Linked DNA regions of Homo sapiens: region 2 is linked to region 1. The links are contacts of gene promoters, found by promoter capture Hi-C in human tissues and cell types (Jung and others, 2019). All regions are on one chromosome and are shown on one strand. Each heading gives the region's core, a stretch centred on a gene start or on the middle of the fragment in contact. The rest is flanking DNA. Distances are from core to core; before and after follow the strand shown.

What was found. The method cuts DNA at HindIII sites, captures the fragments that hold promoters and counts their contacts. A contact is called where the count stands out against the background at its distance.
Region 2: a fragment that was not itself captured here is called in contact with the fragment with the promoter of B4GALT6 in region 1 in 3 of the 25 tissues and cell types used here (adrenal gland, hippocampus and liver).

Annotation. Positions count from the first base shown.
Region 1 is chr18:31,680,982-31,687,149 of GRCh38, forward strand. It overlaps B4GALT6 (beta-1,4-galactosyltransferase 6), which reads right to left and starts at 3,600. Exons shown (of 9, transcript NM_004775.5): 1 at 3,331-3,600. The coding sequence starts at 3,445. RefSeq lists an enhancer at 291-500 and a silencer at 3,697-4,736. The HindIII fragment of the contact is 7,513 bases long and covers 1-5,320 here.
Region 2 is chr18:31,722,381-31,728,804 of GRCh38, forward strand. It overlaps a transcript of B4GALT6 not described here, the pseudogene LRRC37A7P and the pseudogene LOC390846. Among named protein-coding and RNA genes, the nearest start is that of SLC25A52, 35 kb to the right of the region's middle. RefSeq lists enhancers at 1,543-2,742, 1,972-2,071, 2,038-2,537. The HindIII fragment of the contact is 7,678 bases long and covers 1-5,426 here.

The DNA of each region.
Region 1 (6,168 bases), core at 2,350-4,849:
TCCTCTGGAAATCCTTAACCAGCCCTCACTTCCCACCACATGCCTTCCAAGGATTTACTACAGCAGTTTTATGGGGCTCAGCCCATTGTACTATGACGGAAGAAAATGAGCCTTAGTCATCTATCTTCCATACCTCAATGTCCAGCCTCTCTTGGGTGCACAACTCCTATTGTTGAATGAACTTGTAAGTCAGCTCATCTTTGATATGACAGCAAGAAAATGACTACGTTATATTGGAAGTTATATTAATAAAGGTTTCCTATTAAATGCAATTCTGTTCTCAATCCAGCCAAGTCAAAACCTTGGAGAGAAACTGCACTCATCTTTGCAATCATGCACAAAGGTAGACACAGAATAAGAAATAATTTATGGCTCTGGCCTCTAGGGGTGGGCTACAGCAATCTGTCCATGGACTTCCTATGGTGTGGTGATGGGGCAGGTGTCTGCCATCCAGTTTCCCTGAGTACTAAGGTTTATAATGTAAAGACTATCCCTGTGTTTCCTGTATGCATTAGACACTTCAAGAAAAATGGTTCCTTGAAAATAATGAGCTTTGAGTTCTATGGAACTCACTGTAGTTGACCCAAATAGTCCAGAAATAGACTATTTCAGAGGAACATCTGAAAACACTGGAAACTAAACAGATTACGCTGCCTACAACTGTGTGATGTATCTGCTCAAGATGGCAAAGAAGAGGAACTAAAATGACAGAAGATCTACCTGGGAAGAAAGCCCATGACATACACAGGGCTCAGGACAGAAAACAAGTAGGGAAAGAGAATTAAAGTTTACCAAACAGGTTGATATGGTAGGATTAATAGGAATTTCTTAACAGAGGAGATTTGAAACGCTTTTTAGGGCACATAAAAAGTACTTACAACATACATTTTAGTCATAAACACATTTTGCCCCAAGATGTAATTCAGGCTAAAATATGAATTATTTTCTTGAAGTTATTATTTCAAGAAAAATCCACATACATCGAATAAAAACTAGTTATAAGAACCTAATTACTTCTGGATATGTCTCATAAATAAGAAATCTGAAGCACTTGTGCAATTGATTGATTGCTGCAGTATGGACTCAACAAGCCACATTTTTCATGGAACATCATTTTTACTTGAAAGAACAACTGAAAAACTATGGTTAAACTTGTGCATCTGACCTACATTTTCTCGAAAATGAGCAAAGTGAGCCTGACACTTCAAGAAAAACTGACAGTATTTGTTGCCAATGATAAAATTCAAACTTTCAAGCGAAAATCTGAATTTTGGAAAACTGCTTCCCAATACTTAAAGATACAAAAGATTAAAAAGGAGGCTTTTTTTGGCTAAATGGTACAGGGTTTTGGAAACAGATTCAGCTTGACAATTTCACAGCATTTTGTAAGTTTTTGGTTTGCACTCTTCTAACTGGTTTTAATAACTTATTATCATTTATAAGACCTACAAAAACAGAGTAGGTTAAGCCACATCAATCTAATTGCCTACAAGACACGTGCCAACATTTTTACATTATATCAGTGACCGTTCTATGGCAAACATTAAGCATTCAAATAAGGAAAATTTATTAGTGTTTCACACAAGTTGAATTAAGAATCTACAAATAATATACTGACGCACTAACTTTAAAAAAAAAGGGATGACTAGAATTCTGATTTCCTTTGGTTAGCTTTTTGAGTAATATAACTTTAACATGTTACTCATAATACTAAGAAAGTGGGAAAATTGTTATGTAAGTGTGAAAAAAACTTTCTCCAAAATCTTTCAAAGTTAAATTCCTAGTAAAAAAACATACCCCAAAGATGTCCAAACTTTTAAAGAGTTACATGAGAAAGTAAAAATTGCTATAGAATGAAGAGTTAATTTATAAGACTCCAAAATGGCAAAAAATAAAGAAAGCTCTTGTTGAGTATCTAGATAATATCAAATCCACTAAGCTACCACTGTCATTTGTACTATAGGCTTCAAGGGGTAGGTTTTTGTGAGGTTTTTTGTTTTTTCTGGCCTAAAGGAAAACTGCAATAATGTTAAAATATTCTTCAAACTTTACCCTAAAACTTCTATTTTGGGATACGTCAACGTTTCACAATGCATTTCTTCTTAAACATCATCATCTGAGTTTATACACCTCACTGAATCCAAAAATTAATTATTAAAGAAAAAGTCTCATAGTAATTTTAAGAAATGAAGCAGTCTGGATTAGGTTTCCATCTTCCTTCCCTGCTGCAATTCACTGCAATAATCTACTACACTCAAGACAATGCCCTGATCATTCCATCTGAAAATTCTGCAGGTGTTTTCACTCTGTAAGGGGCATTACATTTTTAGCTAACTCGGAACAAAGAGCACTGGCTCAAACGACCACAGTGTGTAAGGAGAAATGAGAGGAGATGCTCACTGTTACTAAGTAATTGAACATTAAATACGTAATAGCCAGGAAAAACTCAGAAAAGTTTTGGAAATATGACATATTTTAATATGCATGTGAAGTTCATAATTCTCATTCACTAGAATTAACGCCGCATTGGCTCCTTTTCAACAAATGGGGGACGAGGAATTCGGATATTTAATAAAGAAGTTAATTCAAGCAGTTTTACAAAAGTGTATTTTGCACCAAAGGCCAAAAAATGATAAACCGGTTAACATTTTAAACTACAAGTTCCCTTAGATAACGGTTATTTTAATCACTATTTTCTCAGAAGTCATCCTAACAGGTAGCAAAGGCAACGTACCCTTGAAAATAACACCCAAGCAGACTAAAATAATGGAGCATTGTTTTTACAAGACAACTCATCGCCTTAAAATTCCCCAAGTATGGCACAAAAAGAATGGGGTCCACTGACCCCATTCTAAAAAAGCGACCTAGGACCCTAGAAAACACACATTGTTGGACTCAATCACATTCCCTGCTGCTGGCTCCTCCATATTTTTACAACCAGTTATTATACCCGAGAGTGTTTGAATAAAACTACGATTAAGCACTCAGTTTAGGCTTAAAGACTTAACATTAAATGGATAAAGCTGTCATGAACACTCAAGAAAGCGACTAGGGCATCCCGGGCCATCACACTAATTTTGCTACGTCTATTTAATGCAATCTTTTACGTTATTAACAAACATGCATTAACAAAATGCATGCATTAACAAAACTCACATACCAAAGCCATGCCCTGAAGCAGTTTGACACGTCTGAAATAACATTTAAAACAAAACGCTTTTCTGCGGGCCCCTGTTTGAACAGCTTCCAAATCCCAGAAGTAACATCGGATAACAGCCTGCGCTGGCTGTGGTGTGACCAGGGGAAGCGAGGGTGTGTCTCGGTGCTTACCGATGCCTGGGGCCACATAGATGAAGTACAGACAGGACGAAGAGAGGGAGAAGAAGAAGATGAAGGCGAGGAGAGAGCGATTGGAAACCCGCATCATCCGCCTGAGCACAGACATCTTCCTCTTCCCTGCCAGCAGCCCAGGCTGCGCTCTCAGGCCGGACTCGGGGCCACTGTCCAGGCCCTAAACTTCCATAAATGTGCTGAGAACCCCGAGACTGCAGCGGGGTCCGCGCGGGGAGGCTCTGGGGAGAGGGCCCGAGCGGAAAAGAGGAAATGGGAGGGAGCGGACGGAATGAATGGGAGGCCAGAGAGTCGGGGGAGGGGAGGCGCGGAGGCCGAGGGACAAGAGGTGGAGGGGGGAGAGGGGACTGGGGGCTAGGGGCCCGGGGACGGCAGGACGGAAGAAAGCCGGGGAAGGGCGAGGAGGAGCGTTTTCTCCGCCAAGCAGCGGCGGGAGGAGGGGCTGCAGGTGGGAGGAGGCGCAGGCTGCGCGCCGCGGCGCCCCTGCGGAGAGGGGCAGCTAACTGCAGCACGCCCGGCTCCGCTGCCCGCGCCCGGCGGGGTCCCGCCGCGAAGCCCCGTGCTTAAGGTCCGGGCCGCCCGCGTCCGCTCGGCAGGCCCTGCGCCGCCTCCTACTCCGGGCCGCGGCGTCTCCTGCCTGCGCGGGGCTAGCGTGGGCGCCGGGGCCGCAACCAGCGCGCGCCACGCGCGGGGGCCCGCGGGGGCCCTCGGGGCCGAGGAGCTGGGCGCTCGCCTGCACCGAGCCGCCTCCTCATGCCGCGCCGGGCCCCGGCGCCCCGCGGCCGCCGCGGGAGCTGAGCACAGGCCAGGGCGGCGTCCCGGCCAGCGACGAACGCGCTCCGACTCCGGCCGCCGCCAGCTGCCTGCCTGGCCGCAAGGGCGGCAGCGGCATTACCGCCGCGCGCCCGGGGTGAGGCGCCCCCGCCGGGCCCGCGGACACCAGGCGAAGAGCAACCGGGCGACGCGCGCTGCGGGCAGAGCCGGGGAGCCGGAAGAGCAGAGGCCGAGCGCCGTCGGAGCCGCGTCTGGTTGGAGAAAGAGGCGGACGTGAAGGGGCGGGGGAGCCGCGGAGGAAAACCGGGACCGGCGGGAACGTCTCGAGACCCCTGCGCGCTTCGCGCGCTCGCTCGGAACTCGGCAGGCGGCGCTGCGCCGGGCCCCGAGGAAACCTGGAGGTCCCCGCCCTCCCCGCGCCCGAAACACCGCGCGTCCTGATAGGCCCGCGCCCAGCAGCCCCCTCCCCGCGCCCGCCGCACCGGGGCCCCACCGCCTCCTGCGTCACCGCCGCCCCCGCCCGCCCGGGGACCCCGCGGTGACCGCGCTGCTGGGGGTTGAGGGACGCGTTGCGAGCCCCGGATACATTGTACCCTGGGGGTACATAATGAAGGATGCTGTACCTGAAAGGAAAAGGGCATCTCCAAAAGGGGACTTCGCGGGTGGAATTTCCTTCCAAAATCCTCGAGGAACAAGGTGTATTTCCGACCTGGATTAATGAATCCCCCCTCCTATCCCGCACTTCCTGTGGAAACAGTGTCAGGATGTGGCGCGGACCTATGTGCGTCCCTTATACCAGGACTTGCCTTCAACGCTGAAGGTGAACCCTGGGTCATCCTCGCTGTATTCAGGCGGCGCTGCAAAGGCTTCTGGGCAGCCAATAGGCCCTTGAGCGCCTCAGCCCCATCTTGCTTCAGTAGGCAAACGGACGGGTGTCTTCATCCACCTCCTAGGCCGTGGTCTACCCTTCGTTCAAATGTTTCTTCCTGCTAGCTGACTGTCCAGGTCCTTAGCTGTATCACATTGTTCAAATGTGTGTGCGCAGGTGTTTCTTTTTCAACTAATCATGCAGGAAGTGGCGGGATGCCTTACTGCCATTATTTGCTGAGTATTTCCAGATGGAACTGTAGTTGATAGCCAATAAATTTGGTACGTTTTTATCGGGATGCGCATGCCATAGATCGTCCCTGAGATAATGCTTTGCAATGTGGAACCTGAAACACCTATGTATAAGCCCAAGCCTTTCATTAATATTAACTGTGAGACCCCTGGAAGCTACTACTTTGTGTGAGCCTGTTTTCTCCGCCCTCAAACAGTGGATATAATACCCCCTTGCAAGGCTGTGAGATTAAATGGATAACTGTGCATAATGCTAAGCATGGTGTCTGGGACGTAAGAGGTTCCTTATATCCCATTAGTTCACTAGGTGGGATCACCAAGTTGAAATTCATTTTTTAATATTTTGCTTGTTGGAGTACTCACAACTCAACTTCTCTGGCTAATTTGATGTTTAATTTGAAAGGTAATGACACTATTTTGTAACATTTTTAGATGCTTAAGGGAAATTTGAAATGCAAAGTGGAACAACATTAAAAGGAAACTCATTTGTAAAATAAAGAAAAACAAAATCTATGCAAGCCAAAGAAGTCATGAATGCTGAGGAAGCAAAAATTGTGATTTTCCCCTCTCCAATCCCACTGTTCATTTATCTTTATTTGCATCAGTTAGACTGGTTGTTTACAAAGCTAATACCACCATACCACTAGTCAAAAGAGAGTTCCATACCTTTGCTGACCTAGTGGTAGACCATTCTTCTCAGGCAAGGTTGGCTTTTTCAAAGGAAAGTTTACTATAAACTGAGAGAGAAGTAGTAACATTATAGAATTTGATGATTCATCTATAAGAAATCTGAAGACTGTACAGATGAACCTAGCTGGCATAGATGACTGCCATCGGTTTCTCCCCTAATTTTAACCCTATCTCTTGATTTCTCTTGTTCGGCAAGTGTCCCCCACGGTACTTGTTAAGACTGATTAGCTCTCC
Region 2 (6,424 bases), core at 338-2,837, 39 kb after region 1:
TATTTTTGTAACTTTAGAGCTTGGTACCATATATCATGAAAACAAATCAATTGTGAGTGGAATTAAAAGGCACACCACATAACATTTATAAGGAAAGGATGCAGAATCCTGGGTGGCTGCTCACATTACAATGAGTCTTCCTCAGTAGTGCTCTCAGGTTTGTGATTGTTCTGCCCCCTAGAGGCGGCTTTGAGAAGTGCTTGAGATGAACGTCTCTGTGACTCCCTCATCAGCAGGCTCAGCTTAGCCTAGGAGCACAGGCCTGAAGTGGGTGCTCACAGGATGGTTTTCCTCTGCCTACTTGCCTTCATTTCATCTGGCAACAGTGGTTCCGGTAATGTTGGCAGTCAGTGGCTATCACGGTGGGAAGAATCAGAACTTGAATAAACCACAGCGCTACTATGATCCCGTTCTTAGTGGCAGAATCACACACAATAAAAGAGAATTTGAGGTCTTCAATCACTAATGAAATACCAAGACCTCTTTATTACTCAATTTGGGTCAAAAAATATCAGCTAGAAAAGGAAGTTGGGAATGATTATTCACGTTTATGAGTGTAGCCTCTGACATATAAATGAATTACATACTAATCATGAGGTTGGATTTTAAATCTTGGCATACTCAAAATGTACAGAAAAGACATGTTTTCACTGCAGGCTGCAGCTGAATAATGAAATATGAAAACTACATTTTTGAACTATTTAATTTTTTGAAATTTAAACATATAATTTAGCAATATAGCATACATATTTCCACCATCACACAATGTTAATGTTTTTCTTATTGGCTTCTAATTTCTTTTTTAATTATTGTTTTATAATAGATCCCTTTTATTGAAAGCTCACTGTTTGCAAAGCAGTCTACATTCATTATCCCATGAAATCCTCAAACAACCCTAAAAGGTAGGTGTCAGTACCACCGCACTTTGTGATTGTACCAGACAATCAGTAATAAGATAGGTAAGAATGGCTATGGGGGAAGTCAGCTGGGTTCTAGTTATAGTCGCATTTCAGAAAATTATTTAACATGCTGACTTTAACAACCTAAGCGTCTTCTCCCTGTGTGCACACAGGGTAGACCTCTGAAGAGTGGCGCTGTAGCTTCTAGGGTAAAGGCTGTGTTAAGTCAAGGCAGGATGACAGTTCAGCTTCCTCCCAGGCTAGTGCAAAGAGCTATTCACTAGGATTAAAGGCCTTCTCTCTCCCAGACTGAATTGCTCACCCCCCAAAACCCCTCCTACAGAAAATTTGGAGTCCTCGTTTATTCCCCGGCAGCCCCTGCCTAATAGGGTGGTGAATTAATTACCAAACATGCAACAAAGGATATCAAAGGTTTGGCGAAAATGGCAACATTTTGGAATAAATGACCGTAATGTGTGCTCTGCCTGCCACCCTAACTGGCGCACATTTTGCAGGTCAGTTGCTTTCCCTATGGCCAAGAGGAGGAAAAGCATCTCTCGGATTTCAGCTTGGAGGAGGAAGAGTTCAGGCTGCCAGAACTGGACTGGCACTTCTGAATATCCCGAGGCAAGGTCCCATAACTTCCTTGGGAAGCTCTGCCGCACCTCCAACCCACCCCACCCCACCCCACCCCACCAGGCTGCTGGAGTCTTGGGACCGCAGACCCCGCGGCCCAAATTCTTCCTCGCAGAGGGGAGGGGAGGGGTGTTCCGGCCGGGCAGGGCGGAAGGGAGGTTTGGGCTGGATTGTGGGATAAGATTGCCCTGGTGACGCGGAGCGGATCTGGACCCGAGCCTAATAAAGGCTGCGTAAATAAAGGTGTAGTTAATAAAGGACGGGATGGGGCGCGCGGTTGCCAGGGGCGCCAGCGTCTCGGGGCTGCCCTAATGGCTCCTGCTCAGTGCGCGGCGCCAGCGCTTGTCTTGTCCCGGCTGCGTCTCTGGGCCCCACGGGCCCCTCCTCACATGGCAACTATTGTGGCTACTAGTCCAGGCGGCTTAGCCTCTGGAGTGGGTCCAGGACCCGCTCCAGCTGACCTCTGACTCCCTGGGGCCAACTTAGCCCTGGTCTTCCCGCTCCTCCGATCTCCCACGCGAATCGCCGCCATGAGCTAACTCCCCACCCCCGGGCAGACCCGGGAGAGCTTTGATTACCTGGGGTCTTCTGCTTCCTCCCAGACGTCAGCTCCGCTTCAGGAATCGACTGAGACTTTGGCTCAGAGTTTGGTTCCATTCTTGGACACGGATTCAGCTGGAGAGCTGCCCCGGGGCCAGAGCAGTTCGCTGCTGCACACTGGGATCTGAATGACAAGCTGACTCGGCACAGAAGTCTCCCAGAGGTGGTTGCAATGCTAGACTGGGATCAGAACCAGGCCCTAGCTCGGCCTCTTTGCCTCAAAAGTAAGTTTCTAACTGTAGATCTAGATCAGGCTGCAGATCATCAGGCATATGAAATACTTGTTCCACCTCTAGATAGAAATCAAAAGCAAGGAACTTTACTGTTTCGCCCAAGAACCGGAAGAAAGATCTAGCTCAGCATCAAAGGCTTGCCAAGGTTGTTGTTGGAACTCCATACCGATTTGTATCAAAACCTCAGCGTCAGAAACAAACTCTGCAGAATGGGTATTTAGATTCAAGTATGGATATACTGTATCTGGGCAGCCTGCCTCCAGAACTCCAGGTGAGCTCAGATGAGCCTCCAGGGCCTCCTGAGCAAGCTGGACTTTCTCAGTTCCATCTAGAGCCTGAAACTCAAAATCCAGAAACCACTGAAGAGATCCAGTCCTCTACTCCAGCAAGAAGCTGCAGCGCAGCTTCCACAGCTCCCTGAGGTGGTAGAACTTTCTTCAACCAAAGCTGGAGGCCCCAGCTCTGCCTTCACAGTCCCTTGAGGGGGTCCACTCTTCAACAGAGCAGAAGGCTCCAGCACAGCAGCTACCTGCCTTTGAAGAGATCCTAGCCCCACTATTGATACATCATGAGGTAAATGTTCCATTGAAAAGTTGGAGTGAAGTTCAGCACTCACACTTGCCCAGTGTCACAATCAAACCTGTGGACGTGGAGCTTACGGTAACTCCAGAGCCAGGTAAGAAACTTACAACAAGCCAGGAACAGGCCCCAGCTCAGCCTCCAGAACACTCCAAAGAGGTGGGCTCTTCCTCAACCCAATTATAGCCCCCAGCTCAGACTCCAGACCCCCCTAAGGAGGTAGAACCTTCTCCAGTCCAGCAGAGTTCCCAGATGAGCCACCAGAGCCCCCTAAGGAGGTTGAACCATCTGCAACCCAGCAGGAAGCCTCAGGTCATCCTCCGAAGTCCACTGAAGAGGTCAGTCCTCCACTGCAGCAGGAGATACCAGCTCAGCCATCAGAGCCACCTGAGAAGGTCAAACCATCTCCAGTCATAAAGCAGCCCCCAACTCAGCTTTTAGAGCCACATTCAAAGTAATTAACTGGTATTATCTGTCCAAGAGATTGGATGGATAGGAAGTTAAACTTCTGGGAGATGCCTCATTATTTGTACCAGTGGCTCCACATTATTTCTTGATTAATTGTGCAGACTGAGAAGCTGACAGCTAGTTTTTCCAATTCAAGAGTCATCATGGGGATGTTCTCAATTGTTGTTAGTGGGACTTGTGTTGTTTCCATGTCGAGATATTGTAATGCCGGTAATTTAAACAGATAATAATCTCCAATAGTTGTCAGAGGATTGTGATTGAGAATTGTTAGTGGTGAAGGTTCGAGATAGAAGCTCTTCTTGCTGTCCCTCCTGCTGCTCCCTTGCATAGCACCAGTGCTGGAAGTTTCTGAGAGCAGTCTGCAGGTGCTGAACATCATACTTAAACTGGTCAACCCGAAGTTTGGCATTCTGCCTTTTATTAGGGGGCTCCTTGCTGGACAAAATCTCCCGATGTTCTAGATGGCTGAATATCTGGTCTGTGCTTGCTTGGATTTCACCTTCTACTAAGTGCACAGACTGCTTGTCTGCCGTCTCCAGGTGTCCCATGTGAGAATGTATCTCATGGACCTGCTTGTGCGTTTGCTGGTTCAGGGGCTCCATGTCACCGGCCCAGCTGGCCCCAACTCCAGCTCTGGCTTCCTTGGAATATGTCCTCGCAGCCCTGCTTCTAATTTATTTTTTTTAATTAAGATGCATTGGTTTTTTGCTGATCAAAAATTCTGACATATGGCCGGGCGTGGTGGCTCACGCCTGTAATCCCAGCACTTTGGGAGGCCGAGATGGGCGGATCACGAGGTCAGGAGATTGAGACCATCCTGGCTAACACGGTGAAACCCCATCTCTACTAAAAATACAAAAAATCAGCCGGGCATGTTGGCGGGCGTCTGTAGTCCCAGCTACTCGGGAGGCTGAGGCAGGAGAATGGCGTGAACCCGGGAGGCGGAGGTTGCAGTGAGCGAGATCGCACCACTGCACTCCAGCCTGGGCGACAGAGCGAGACTCCGTCTCAAAAAAAAAAAAAAAAAAAATTCTGACATATTACTGACAATTTCAAAAACAGGAAAAGTCTGACAGTATTAGTAGGGTTGACTAAAACAATATGAAATTGACTAAAATAAGTGGACTGTTTTGCAATTAAAAAATTTTAAGTCAATGCAAATATTTATAACTTTTAAGTCTCCTCTAAAAGATAACCAAAGAGCTTATTTAATCCTGTTTTAAATGATGTTAAATTCTTTGCAGATTATTACATAGGATATATTTTAGTAATGATTTAAAGGAGGAAGAAGCAGCCTATTTTATGTTCATTGTAAGTGTTTCTAATAATCATCATTGAATGGTATTAAGTAGCCAGGAGCAGAGATATTGGGGTTATGGTGCTCTGTAAATCAAGTTAATGACATGCCCTTTGATTTTCCAGAACATAAACTCTCATTGCTAATACCCTTCCCTCTGACCATTGTTGTTCATCAAAGTTCTTTCCTAGATGTTGTGTCCTCTACAAACTGTCAGTGATGGTTGTTGCATTCCCCTGGTTCAGTGGTCACTTGCATGCTGGTGACACTGGACTCCAGGCTTGCTGGAGCTTCCAATATGGGTATCCCTGGGAGTATCAAACTCAATGTGTCTCTGCACTCCAGCCTCGGCTACAGGCTGGAATTTTGTCTCTAAAAAACAGAACAAAACAACAAACTCCATGTGTCTAAAAGTGAAATCACTGTCATTCCCCCAAAATTGTTCCTTCATTCACTATCACCCACTTAGTCAACCAGGCACTGGGTTCTATGCTATTCTCCTTCCTTGCCTTCATGTCAAATTCTTCAATCCTGTCCAATTTTTCTACCTAAAATGTCAAATTATCCTGTCCTAGATCGGACCCTAGACACCTCTTACCTGCACTATTTCAATCATTTCCTGATTTCTTAACTCTTCTTCCTGTCTCCAGTCTTTCCTCCCTCTGCATTCATCCACAACGTAACCAGAAGGATGGATCCAAAACGCAGTTCTGGAGACAAACTATCACTTCTGGTCACACAACTTGGTATATGAAAAAGCATGAAGCCAAATAACCCTACTATATCTTCTGATTTATTAAATATACGTGTATTTCAATATATGGAGAAGTTTGTAACATATAAGCAGAAGTTTCTAAGACAGTTTTCTACATACCATTACCTGATGCATAAATGTCTCTCACCCGGACAGAGATGTCTTATTCAGGAGTTCACCTCCACATTGAACAACTCCAGACACACTGAATTCTGAGGGGTGCCCCTCTAATAAGAACAGTTCCCCTTAGAATTGGCAGCAGAGCAGTACTGCCCGGAGGCCCCCTCTCTTCTGTGCCAGAATTGCGCCTTTGCATCATGTTTACTTTCCTTTTCCTTCCACTGCTGAGAACAGTGGGGCTCTCTGCCCGCTCATGATATTCTGGGGACTCTTGTGTGATTCCCTACTACCACTTAGGTCACCAGGATCCACCAGGACCCTCTTTAACTGCACAGGGCTCCCTCGGATGCCACAAGAACTCTAGGAACCTCACTGCTGCTGTGGAGACCCTATAAAAACAGCAGAACCAGAGTGGGCTGTATAAGGAGCTGTGATTTGGCCCCACTTAGTGGAACCCAGAATTAATTTCCTCCCAGAAATAATGCGGTCATTCTGGTTATGGTTTGTACTACTGCTACTACCATCATTAAATTCAGAGGTGCTGGCGGGGCGCAATGGCTCACATCTATAATCCCAGCACTTTGGGAGGCTGAGGCAGGTGGATCACCCAACGTCAGGAGTTCGAGACCAGCCTGGCCAACATGGTGAAACCCTGTCTCTACTAAAAAATACAAAAATTAGCCGGGCATGGTGGTGCATGCCTGTAGTCCCAGCTACTCGGGAGGCTGAGGCAGGAGAATTGCTTGAACCCAAAAGGCAGAGGTTGCAGTGAGCCAAGATCGTGCCATTGCATTCCAGCCTGGGCGACAAGAGTAAGACTCCATCTCAAATAAATAAA